Regions from separate parts of the Homo sapiens genome. Here region 1 is linked to region 2. Evidence: promoter capture Hi-C in human tissues and cell types (Jung and others, 2019). All regions are on one chromosome and are shown on one strand. Each heading gives the region's core, a stretch centred on a gene start or on the middle of the fragment in contact. The rest is flanking DNA. Distances are from core to core; before and after follow the strand shown.

Region 1 (4,940 bases), core at 677-3,176, 50 kb after region 2:
TCTTCTCTGGATCTTGCTCCAATTTACTGTGCAGCCTTGCACAGGTCACTTAACCTCTCTGGTTTATCGAAGTCTCAGCATCACACACCACTCCTGTACTCATACGAGAACTATGACAGTGCTTCCTCCAAAAGAGAGGCTCTTCCAAGGGCAAGGAGAAGCTTCAATTCACCTTCTGCTTCCCAGTGTATGGTATCATACCCCGCACACTTTAAGTTTCCCATAAATGTTTGTTGATTGAATGAGTGAATGAGTGAAAAAGTAGGTGAAACTGTAAGGGGAAGAGGGTCAACTTAAACTGGCACCAGAGTAGAAGCTCCTGAGACGTATTTTCCCAGCTTTCCACTAAAATACCTAAGAAGGCAGAAAGAATTGAAAACTCACAGTGCTGACACCCAAGACTGACAGGCCCTTTTTGCTAGAATCTGGGAGGAATTTCCATAAATACAAGGCAGATGGAGATGGGTTGAGATAAACAATGGGGATTCTGTTCAAGTTTTATCTCCTGAGTTAGGGGAACCACTCCAGGCCAAAAAGAGGTCGAAAAGTACTCAACAATTTCCCTGCTTGCAACCCCAGTCTCTGAGACCCGGAGTCTGTGCCAATCAGAAACTTGGGGTTGGAGGAGGGGTGGAAGTTTTCTCCACTGTGTGGTGAGGAGGGGTGTGTAATTTTATAGGTGAAGTACTCTTTTTCTTACTGGCCCATAGTTCTACTGAAGTTAGAGACTGAAGTTTCCAAGGCCAGCCATGGTGCCTCACGCCTCAAATCCCAACAGTTTGGGAGGTTGAGGCAGGAGGATCACTTGAGGCCAATAGTTAGAAACCAGCCTGGGCAACATAGCGAGACCCCGTCTGTACTAAAAATACAAAAATTAGCTGGGTGTGGTGGTGCACACCTGTGGTCCCAGCTACTTGGGAGGCTGAGGTGGGAGGATCACTTGAACCCAGGAGTTTGAGGCTGCAGTGAGCTATGATTGCACCACTGCACTCCAGCCTGGATGAGAGATAAAGACTTTGTCTCAAAAAAATAAAAATTAAAACATTTAAAAAAATGAAGTTTCTAGAAGACTATATAGGTCAGGGGAGATAAAATAGAGGGAAGAATGTCAAAAGCACTTTGATTCCCAAGAGGGACAACTCCCAGAAGTGCTATTGCCCATGGAATGGAGTGCGTGCTGGGGATTATAGTTTTTAATGCATTTCTTTTAGTTCATTGTGCCAAAGAGCCAACAGTGCAGTGGGATAGAAGGGGTTCCCTCCTCAGTTCAACACAGTGTAATAGGCGAGCACCTGGTTGACACTGCCTCTAGTTGCTGTACAGACCAGCCAGCCTTTCCTCTCCAGGTTTAGATTATAAAGTGGTGGTGGCTGGGCACAGTGGCTCATGACTGTAATCCCAACACTTTGGGAGACCAAGGCGGGTGGATGGCTTGAGCCCAGAGTTCAAGACCAGCCTGGGCAACATGGTGAAATCCCATCTCTACAAAATATTTAAAAAGTCAGCTGGGCGTGGTGGTGGGTGCCTATAGTCCCAGCTACCTGGCAGGCTGAGGTGTGAGGATCACTTGAGCCCGGGAGACAGAGGTTGCAGTGAGCCGAGATCGCACCACTGCATTCCAGTCAGGGTAACAGAGTGTCCCTGTCTCAATAAATAAATAAATAAATAACAAATAAAATGGTGGCGTTTGGGGTGAGGAGCTGGGGTCAACCGGTACTTTAGTGGACAATGAGAAGTACTGAGGGCAATTCACACAACCTGTCTGTCGGTAAACACAAGCCTAGGTAATAACCAGCTTCTGCAAAGATGAATAAACAAAAGTCAATCGGTGGAGAGTATGCAAAAAATTACTGCATAATGAGAGGAAGGAAATGTCTTTCTAAAAGGAAGAAGCTACCTTTAAAAAATATTCACTGTGTGTCCCAGAAGAAAAACAATGGAAATTTGTCTTGTGTGCTACATAGAACATATACAAAGGGGATAATTTCAATAAAATAGGAGCAGAAGTTTCTAAGAACAGTGTAGACAGAGATTAAAAAACAAAAGCAAAACTATGATTGCAATGACAGAATTTAAATCCCCAGTGGGGGTGGTTAAAGTGCAGCAGTGACCTTGCAGGAAACCAAAATCAGTAATATGGGAGCCAAGCTCGAGAAGCTCTTGTAGCATAAAGAGGAAAAATGATAAATGTTATGGACAGAAAGATTATTTATGAGGGGCAATATCAGCTTAAGGAAAACGGGCATTCATGATGGAAAAAAAGAAATAAAATGCAAAAACAAACATGGACAAAAATTACAGAAAGCATTCTGGGTCAGAAAAAAATAAAGCCCAAGTTGCTGGGTGTGGTGGCTTACACCTGTAATCCCGGCACTTTGGGAGGCTGATGTGGGTAGATCACTTGAGGTCAGGAGTTCAAGGCCAGCCTGGCTAACATGGTGAAACCCCATCTCTACTAAAAATACAAAATTGGCCGGGCATGGTAGTGCATGACAGTGATCCCAGCTACTTGGGAGGCTGAGGCAGAAGAACTGCTTGAACCTGGGAGTTGGAGGTTGCAGTGAGCCAAGATCATACCACTGCACCCCAGCCTGAGTGACAGAGTGAGACTCCTCCAAAAAAAAAAAAAAAAAAAGGCCAACTATACAGGAAAAAGGACTTATCACAATTCAGGCAAAATTACTGAGAAGAAGCGCACATTTTTCTGGCTATCTTTTGCTTTGTAATGAACCCCATCATCTCACTATTATCTCTGATGATTCTGTGGGTGCCCTCGGCACAGCTGGGTGACCTTGCTCAGGGTCTCTGGTTGCAGTCAGCTGGTGGCAGGGATTAGATCATTTGAAGGCTTCTACCGTTGTGTCTGGGATCTGGGCTGGGATGGCGGGAACAGGTAGGGGCTGGCTGGGCATCTCTTTCTCTTCACTCCACCTGTCTGTGGGCTAGCTTCAGCCTCCTCACAGCCTGGCAGTCTCAATCAAGGTGACTGGGCTTCTCCCATGGTGGCTGGCTTCCTCCAAACTGAATGTTCTAAGAAGCCCCGGAATAAGCTTCAAGGCTTCTTCTGTGCCTAGCTTCAGAAGGCACACAGTCTTCTGAGAGTCTTCTTTTCCATTTCACTCTATTGGTCAAGTCAAAGAAGTGGAGAAAGAGATTGTACTTCTCAATCGGGAAAGGCTTGCATGTACGGGAAATGAAGGAATGGATGGTGGCCATCTTGGAAACAAGCTCCCATCCCTACCAACATGCCCTTAAAAATATTTCAAGGAAAAACCTCTAAGGGTCCAAGTTGAAAACACAGGTTGCCTGAGAAAGGTAAGAATTGAATTTCACATATGCAACCCCAATATGGAGCAGTAGCCTCAGAGTTACAGAGCAAAATTATGTTCATAGTAATTTTATACTCGATCAAGTTATTACTCATGTGTGAAAGCAACTAAGGAACATTCTCTGATAGTCAAGGGCTCAGAGAATGTAATACTTGTATGATCTTTTGAAAAAGCTACTTGAAGATATATTCTAGTCAACCAAGAAGTGAATCCAAATCAAAGGATGCCTGAATTGGAAAGCCAATGAACTGAGTGTTTTCTGTTTAGTGGAAATATTTCCAAGAATAGCAAAGCTCCTCAATATTTGGTGATGATCATAGAAAGAATAAACGGAGGATGAAAAATTTCTGCTGTAGAATCTGCAGATTTGCCTCTACCACTCTGTGTGTCCCAAGATGCCGGGTGTGTGGTCAGGAATCTGGTGCACATTTCTTTTTCTCTTTTTTTTGAGACAGAGTCACACTCTGTGGCCCAGGCTGGAGTGCAGTGGTGTGATCTCTGTTCACTGCAACCTCTGCTTCCTGGCTTCAAGCGACTCTCCTGCCTCAGCCTCCTGAGTAGCTGGAATTACAGGTGCAGGCCACCACCTCCAGATAATTTTTGTATTTTTAGTAGAGACAGGGTTTCGCCAGATGGGCCACCACCAGTGTAGTGGCCAGGTTGGTCTCGAACTCCTGACCTCAGGCGATCCACCCATCTCGGCCTCCCAAAGTGCTGGGATTACAGGCATGAGCCACCGCGCCCAGCCTGATGCACATTTCTATGAAGCCTGGAAATGACACCTTGTCATTCAGTGGAGAACAAAAACACGTGGCCTCTAGACCAGGGGTCGCAGGCCCCATTGACATTTAGGGGCCAGCAGGTATTGTCTGTGGATAAAGTGGGTAAGTGTTAGAGAGGGTGTTGAGGAGAACTGGGGAACTGGGCCCTGTGATGTCCATTTTACAGATGTCCCCTGTCCCAGGTTTGTTTGCTTGTTTTTGAGACAGAGTCTTGCTCTGTTGCCCAGGCTGGAGTGCAGTGGCACAATCTTGGCTCACTGCAACCTCTGCCTCCCAGGTTCAAGCAATTCTTGTGTTTCAGCCTCCCAAGTAGCTGGGATTACAGGCATGCGCCACCACACCCAGCTAATTTTTGTATTTTTAGTAGAGATGGGTTTTCGTCATGTTGGCCAGGCTGGTCTCGAACTCCTGGCCTCAAGCAATCCACCCACGTCAGCCTCCCAAAGTTCTAGGAATACAGGCGTGAGCCACCATGCCTGGTCCCCTGTCCCAAGTTTCATAGCAGTTTGGATCAGGACAGCTTCTTCGTTCTGGAAGCTTCTTCAGAGGATGCTTACAGGGATGCTGGCGCTATCAGGAGGCAGCAGAGGTCTGTGTTTCTGAGGGGTGGAGGTGGGAGCAGCCATTGGCCTGGAGCTCATGTCCCTACCACTGGGCACCTGGGTCTGCAGCCACTCACCTGGGTGAGGAGGGCCCTTGTCTCTCTGCCAGCCAACCAGCCCTCCCTGCCTCACTCCTTCCTCATGTCTGTTCCTCCACTTTCTCTCTCTTCCCACCTGCCTTCCGTCCTCCCTCCTGTCTCTCTATTTCTTCCTCTCCCTTTGTCTCT
Region 2 (5,010 bases), core at 821-3,320:
AAATACCAGCGCTGTAAATCTCGCCGCGGAAATTTTCTCCAGCCCAGAATAACAATAGGACCCTGCAAAGGGCTTTCGCCAGCCCTTCTGGTTCCTCTCCTCTTGTGTGCCACGTTCTTGTCATTCCTTATGTTACAGAACATCAATCATAAATAAAGACGCTGTCCCCCAGCCGTGCCCGGGTCTCATTTACAAACATTAGCAGGGAATACGATTACCATTGGCCTTCGTGCCAAGCCCAATGTGGCTGCCCAATTCTCCCTCTCTCTCTCTCTCTCTGCCTCCATAACCCCCACTCTTCCAGAAAGGCCACTTTAGCATCATTTAAGCCGGCAGGCACAGCTCGCAGCCCTGCCCGTCTCAGTTGGCCACCAAACTGTAGCCCCAACTCGAGTGCGGACCCGGAATTGCAAGGCACTCGGCAGTTATTAACTGCATGCCTCAGTGCCCCGATTTTCTCCCCAGCTCAATGGCTTTGGGGGAGGGGGAGAGCGAGGAGTGGGGCGTTCGGAAGGACGGGGACTGGGAAGCGGCCAGGACGGGGAGAAGGCGCGGGTGCTGGAACCACTTATCAGAAGAAACTTAACGAGATTTGCCGGCGGATTAAAAAAAAAAAAAAAAGTGGGTCCCTTTTTATCTCCAGACTGATGATCTCGCGTCTTCCGCGAATGTCACGGTCAAGGCAGGATGCTCTAACCGCCCTGTTATCCGCACCATTTTCCCGCCCCTGATCCCCGCCGCACCCGCCGAGACTTTGCGAGACTCCAAGGCTGGGGGGCCTTGCCAGGCGCGTCCGGGGCACTCCGGGAAAGAACAGAGGCCGGAGCCGCGCCTCCACGGTGCGTTCTCTGAGATTCCACCTCCCAGCCCCGGCTCCTACGGGGTCCGCAGAGAACACCTCCAAATCTAGGGGAGGCACACAGACTCCCACAAAGGGAGGATGGGGAGAAAGTGATGGGGTTTCGAAGAGTCGCCCTAGGGAAGGAGAGAGAAAGAGCAGGGAAGAGAGGAAAGAAACAGAAGAAAAGCAGAGACGGGAGAGAGGAGACGAGGGGAGCAGCGGGGAGAAACGCAGGAGGCAGAACAAGCAAGGAAATCTCTCATTTAAAAGTTCCCTTGGGCCCGAGGGCTGGGAGTCACCTGCTCTGCGCCGCTCCCGGCTCTCCACCGCCCTGGAGGCAGGAGCGCAAACTTGCGAGCGCCCGGGCCCACCTCCACCGCCCGTCTGCATCTAGACTTGGGAAGGGGATGGAAGGGGCGGGGGGGTAAAGGCAAGAAGCAAGACGAACCCCAAGACCCCGGCCCGAGGAGAAGAGGTCTGCCGGCGCTTGCGGCCAGTCCGGCGGCGGCGGCTCTGGCGGCGGCGGCGGCGGCCCCCGGGTGGCGGCGCGTCCGGGCTGCGCAGCCAGGCGGGCGGCGAAGGCTGAGGTGCCGGCGAGCGGCGGGGCGCGGAGCCGCCTCCTCGCCAACCCCGGCTCCCTCCTCCTCTCTCCTCCTCCTCCTCCTCTCCTCCTCCTCCTCCCTGCCCGCCAGCTCCCTCCCTCCCTCGCCGGAGCCCCAGCCGGGTGCGGACTGGCAAGCGGCGCGCTCCGCGGCCTCCCCGGGCGCCGCGAAGTTGGGAGGCGCGCAAAGTGCGGCTCAGGGGGGACCGCCGGGGGTTCCCGCCAGCAGCCCCCTGCCCGAGGCCGTAGCCCCTGCCTTCCCCGCTCCTCGCCCGGCCGCCTGGCCGCTCGGCCGCTCCGCCGACCGAGGGCTCACTAGCGCTTCTCCATGGTCGCGGCAGCTAATCGATGACTGAACCGAACAAAGAGCAGCGGCGAGATCAATTCCTAATACCTATCGATGGGCAGCGGGCGGCCGAGCCCCGGCGAGCCCCGGCAGCCGCCGCCCGCCGCCCCAGGGCGTCCGCCTGCCCGCCCGGGGACCTCCCCAATGCGCCCAGGGCGCGCCCGGGGGCTCCTCACGGCCGCGCGGCCGGCGCTGCCCGCACTAACCTGGAGTCGCCGTAGATCAAATCGCTTCCAATATTGAAACATCGATCCCACATTGGCGGCCATCTTGGGGGCTATCGAGACGCGCACACACAAGAGTTTGGCTTTTCTCAATGGCTGCACTCAATATCCGGGCTGGACTCCCCCCAGCCCCGGGGCCGCCGCCGGCCGCCCGGGCCCTGAGCGCCGCGGCCCGGGGCCCCTCGGGCGCCCTCCGGCCTCCTGCCACCCGCTGCCCCTCGCCGCCGCCGCGCCGCCGCCGCCGCCGCCGCCAACGGGCCCGGGAGCCGTGCGCCCCCCCGACCCCCGGAGGGCGCGGGCGGAGCGCGCCGGGCGGGGAGCTCGGCGCCCGCCCGGGGGAGGCAGCCGGGGATGGGGTGGGAGGGGAGGGGTTGGGGGGAGGCAGCCTCTCCGAGAGGCGCCGGCGCCGCCGCTGCCCTGCCTGCCGCCGGCTCCCGGGCCCGCGGAGCGCTCGCTGCATCTCCCCCCCAAGTCCGGGGTCGGTGTGCCGCGCGATTGCACTTGACTTTGGCTTTTTGCAAACTTATCAATACTGACGTAACGTGCTGATCAATGCAAAGGGAAGTTTGGGAGGGGGCGCTGCGGGAGGCGGGCGCGCGGGGCGCCTACCCCCGCTTGCACCTGTCTACCCCCAGCTCCCGGCATTGCACGCTTAAAAAAAAGTTAATAGTTTGAAATGCATTTTTTTTTCTTTTGCAATCGGAGCACACACAACACGTGCCTCGGGCTGCCGCCGCTCCATCGCCAGATATGCTTGGGATCCGAGGGTCGCAGCCAGCACTTGGGGCTGCGTAGACGCGCCGGCCGGAGGGAGGGTGGGAGCCGCCCGGGGGCGCCACTGAGTCGTGGGAAATGTCACCACCACCGCCCACAGTTTCCGCGCCATTATATTATTATTATTGGCGGGGAGGGGGGCTTCGTCTGAGTAGTAGCTCAGGGTTCTTTACGGGCGGGGGCCGAGGGCGGGGCCTCAGGTCCTTTGGAATAGGGATTTCTGTTGTTATTATCTGGGGGGTCTTTAACCCAATTATAGGGACTCCCCCACAGCTTTGCAAGGTGAAACCCTTTTACTGTGATGATGATTATTGGAGGTTTTGTTATTTGGTTCTGAACCAAACCTCTGGAGGGCCTTTTCCCCCAGTGGGCTTGTTTTATTGTTATGACTGTTGAGGGTGCCCTACCCCTGCTGTGGGGGCTCCGGATCCTTAAAAACCTCGGAGGTTTCTGCTGTTGTTATCATCATTATTATCCGGGGCTCCGTTCTTTGCAACATGACATTCCTTTATTGTGATTGTCTTTGGGGAGAGGGTCTTCAGCATGGCTAGAGGGAGGTTCCGGTCCTTTGCAATTCTTCGGACTCTTGACAACCGGGGTGACTGGATTTCTTGTTTTACATTTTTCTGTCTGCTTTTTTGTTTGTTTGTTTGTTTGTTTGTTTGTTTGTTTTTGCCTCTGTGCAAGCTCGAGGTCCTCTGTTTCCACTTCCCCTGGAGGTGAGATGTCACCTCCAGGGGGAACTCATACTCCCAGCCCCCTCCATCACCAACCCCCTTGCCTATCCCTGCCACCACCCTTAAAGGTGAGGTCACCCTTCCTCTCTGGCTTATTCCCCTGATACATAGCACCGCACCCTCTTCCCCACTCAAAAAAAGGGGACATGTTTTTCCTTTTTCTCTGATCAAAAGATTTGCTTTTATGGACAGCAAATGGAAATTATATTCTTTTTATGACCCAGCCTAGACTTCTGACATCACTCTTGGTCTGGGACAATAGATCAATACAGTGGGTTATAAAAAAGATAAAGTTTAGAAGAGTTATAAAGAAGAGAGAATCATGATGGATATTTTTGATGATTTTCCAATATTTGTGTCTCAGAGCACGTGCTTTGAGGCAATTAAAGTTTTTAATGTAATGTAAATAATTGTTTCATAAATGCTTCGGAAGAAGGTGTGATCTTTCTGAGCAATCATTTGAGCTGTTTAAAAAATGAAATGTGATTTAAACAAGGATACAGTATTTCTGTTTCCATTCCCATACATTTTCCATGAGGTCTGGGTAAATATATTAATGCAGGAGTTGAAAGACGCGTAAGACCAAAAGTACTGCATTCACCGAGATGTAATGAATTAGGCCTAGTTAGCAATTCCGAGTGGCCTGTTTCCCTGCCAGATTAAATTGCACGTGATGTGTGGTTTATCTCAGCTCTCGATAACTTCAGGTTTAAATTACAGCTCTCATTCTGCAAAATGAATTTAGGGAAATTTCATAACTATCACATTACAATTTTTTAAATGGCTACATTTTTCTCCTGAGCATCTGTAAAGCTTGTGGCTTCCTTGTCTTTGGGTCTGCTTTTTAAAGTCCTACTAGAGTGCGTGTGAAACCCTTCCAAGCAATGTTTAACAAGCCAAGGGTTTGATGAAGAAAATTATTTTAAACTTATGTGTGATTTTGCAGGAACAGGACGCACTGACATCGTGTACCTCCTGATATGTTGTGCTTGAAGGACAGATCACTTCTGTGGTATTCCTGCCAAAGAGGTATAATCTAAATCTAATTGTGAAGAAATATCAGACAACCCCAAATGGAGGGGAAAATTCTACAAAATAAACAGCCTGTTCACTTCAAAAACATCAGTGGCACATGAAACACACAATAATGGAGGAACTATTTCCAATTAAAGGAAACTAAAGAGACTTGACAAGTGATTATAACGTACGATCCTGGATTTTCTTTTACTATAAAGTGGATGAATTAGAACCAATGACAAATTTAAAATAAAGTCAATAGATCAGATAATAGTGTTATATCGATGTTAATTTCCTGATTTTGACTATTATACTGTGGCTATGTAACAAAATATCCTTGTTTTTAGAGAACACACTGAAGTATTTAGGGATAAAGGGACAGACATCATGTCTCCAACTCTCAAGCAATGCAGATGAAAATAATATGTACCTATTTATTTATCTATATATGTCTACCTAGACACAGTGAT

What was found. The method cuts DNA at HindIII sites, captures the fragments that hold promoters and counts their contacts. A contact is called where the count stands out against the background at its distance.
Region 1: a fragment that was not itself captured here is called in contact with the fragment with the promoter of CUX2 in region 2 in 1 of the 25 tissues and cell types used here (mesendoderm cells).

Annotation. Positions count from the first base shown.
Region 1 is chr12:110,980,819-110,985,758 of GRCh38, reverse strand. No RefSeq gene overlaps it. Among named protein-coding and RNA genes, the nearest start is that of LINC01404, 25 kb to the right of the region's middle. The HindIII fragment of the contact is 3,847 bases long and covers 3-3,849 here.
Region 2 is chr12:111,031,225-111,036,234 of GRCh38, reverse strand. It overlaps CUX2 (cut like homeobox 2), which reads right to left and starts at 2,070. Exons shown (of 22, transcript NM_015267.4): 1 at 1,995-2,070. The coding sequence starts at 2,057. The HindIII fragment of the contact is 13,154 bases long and covers 1-5,010 here.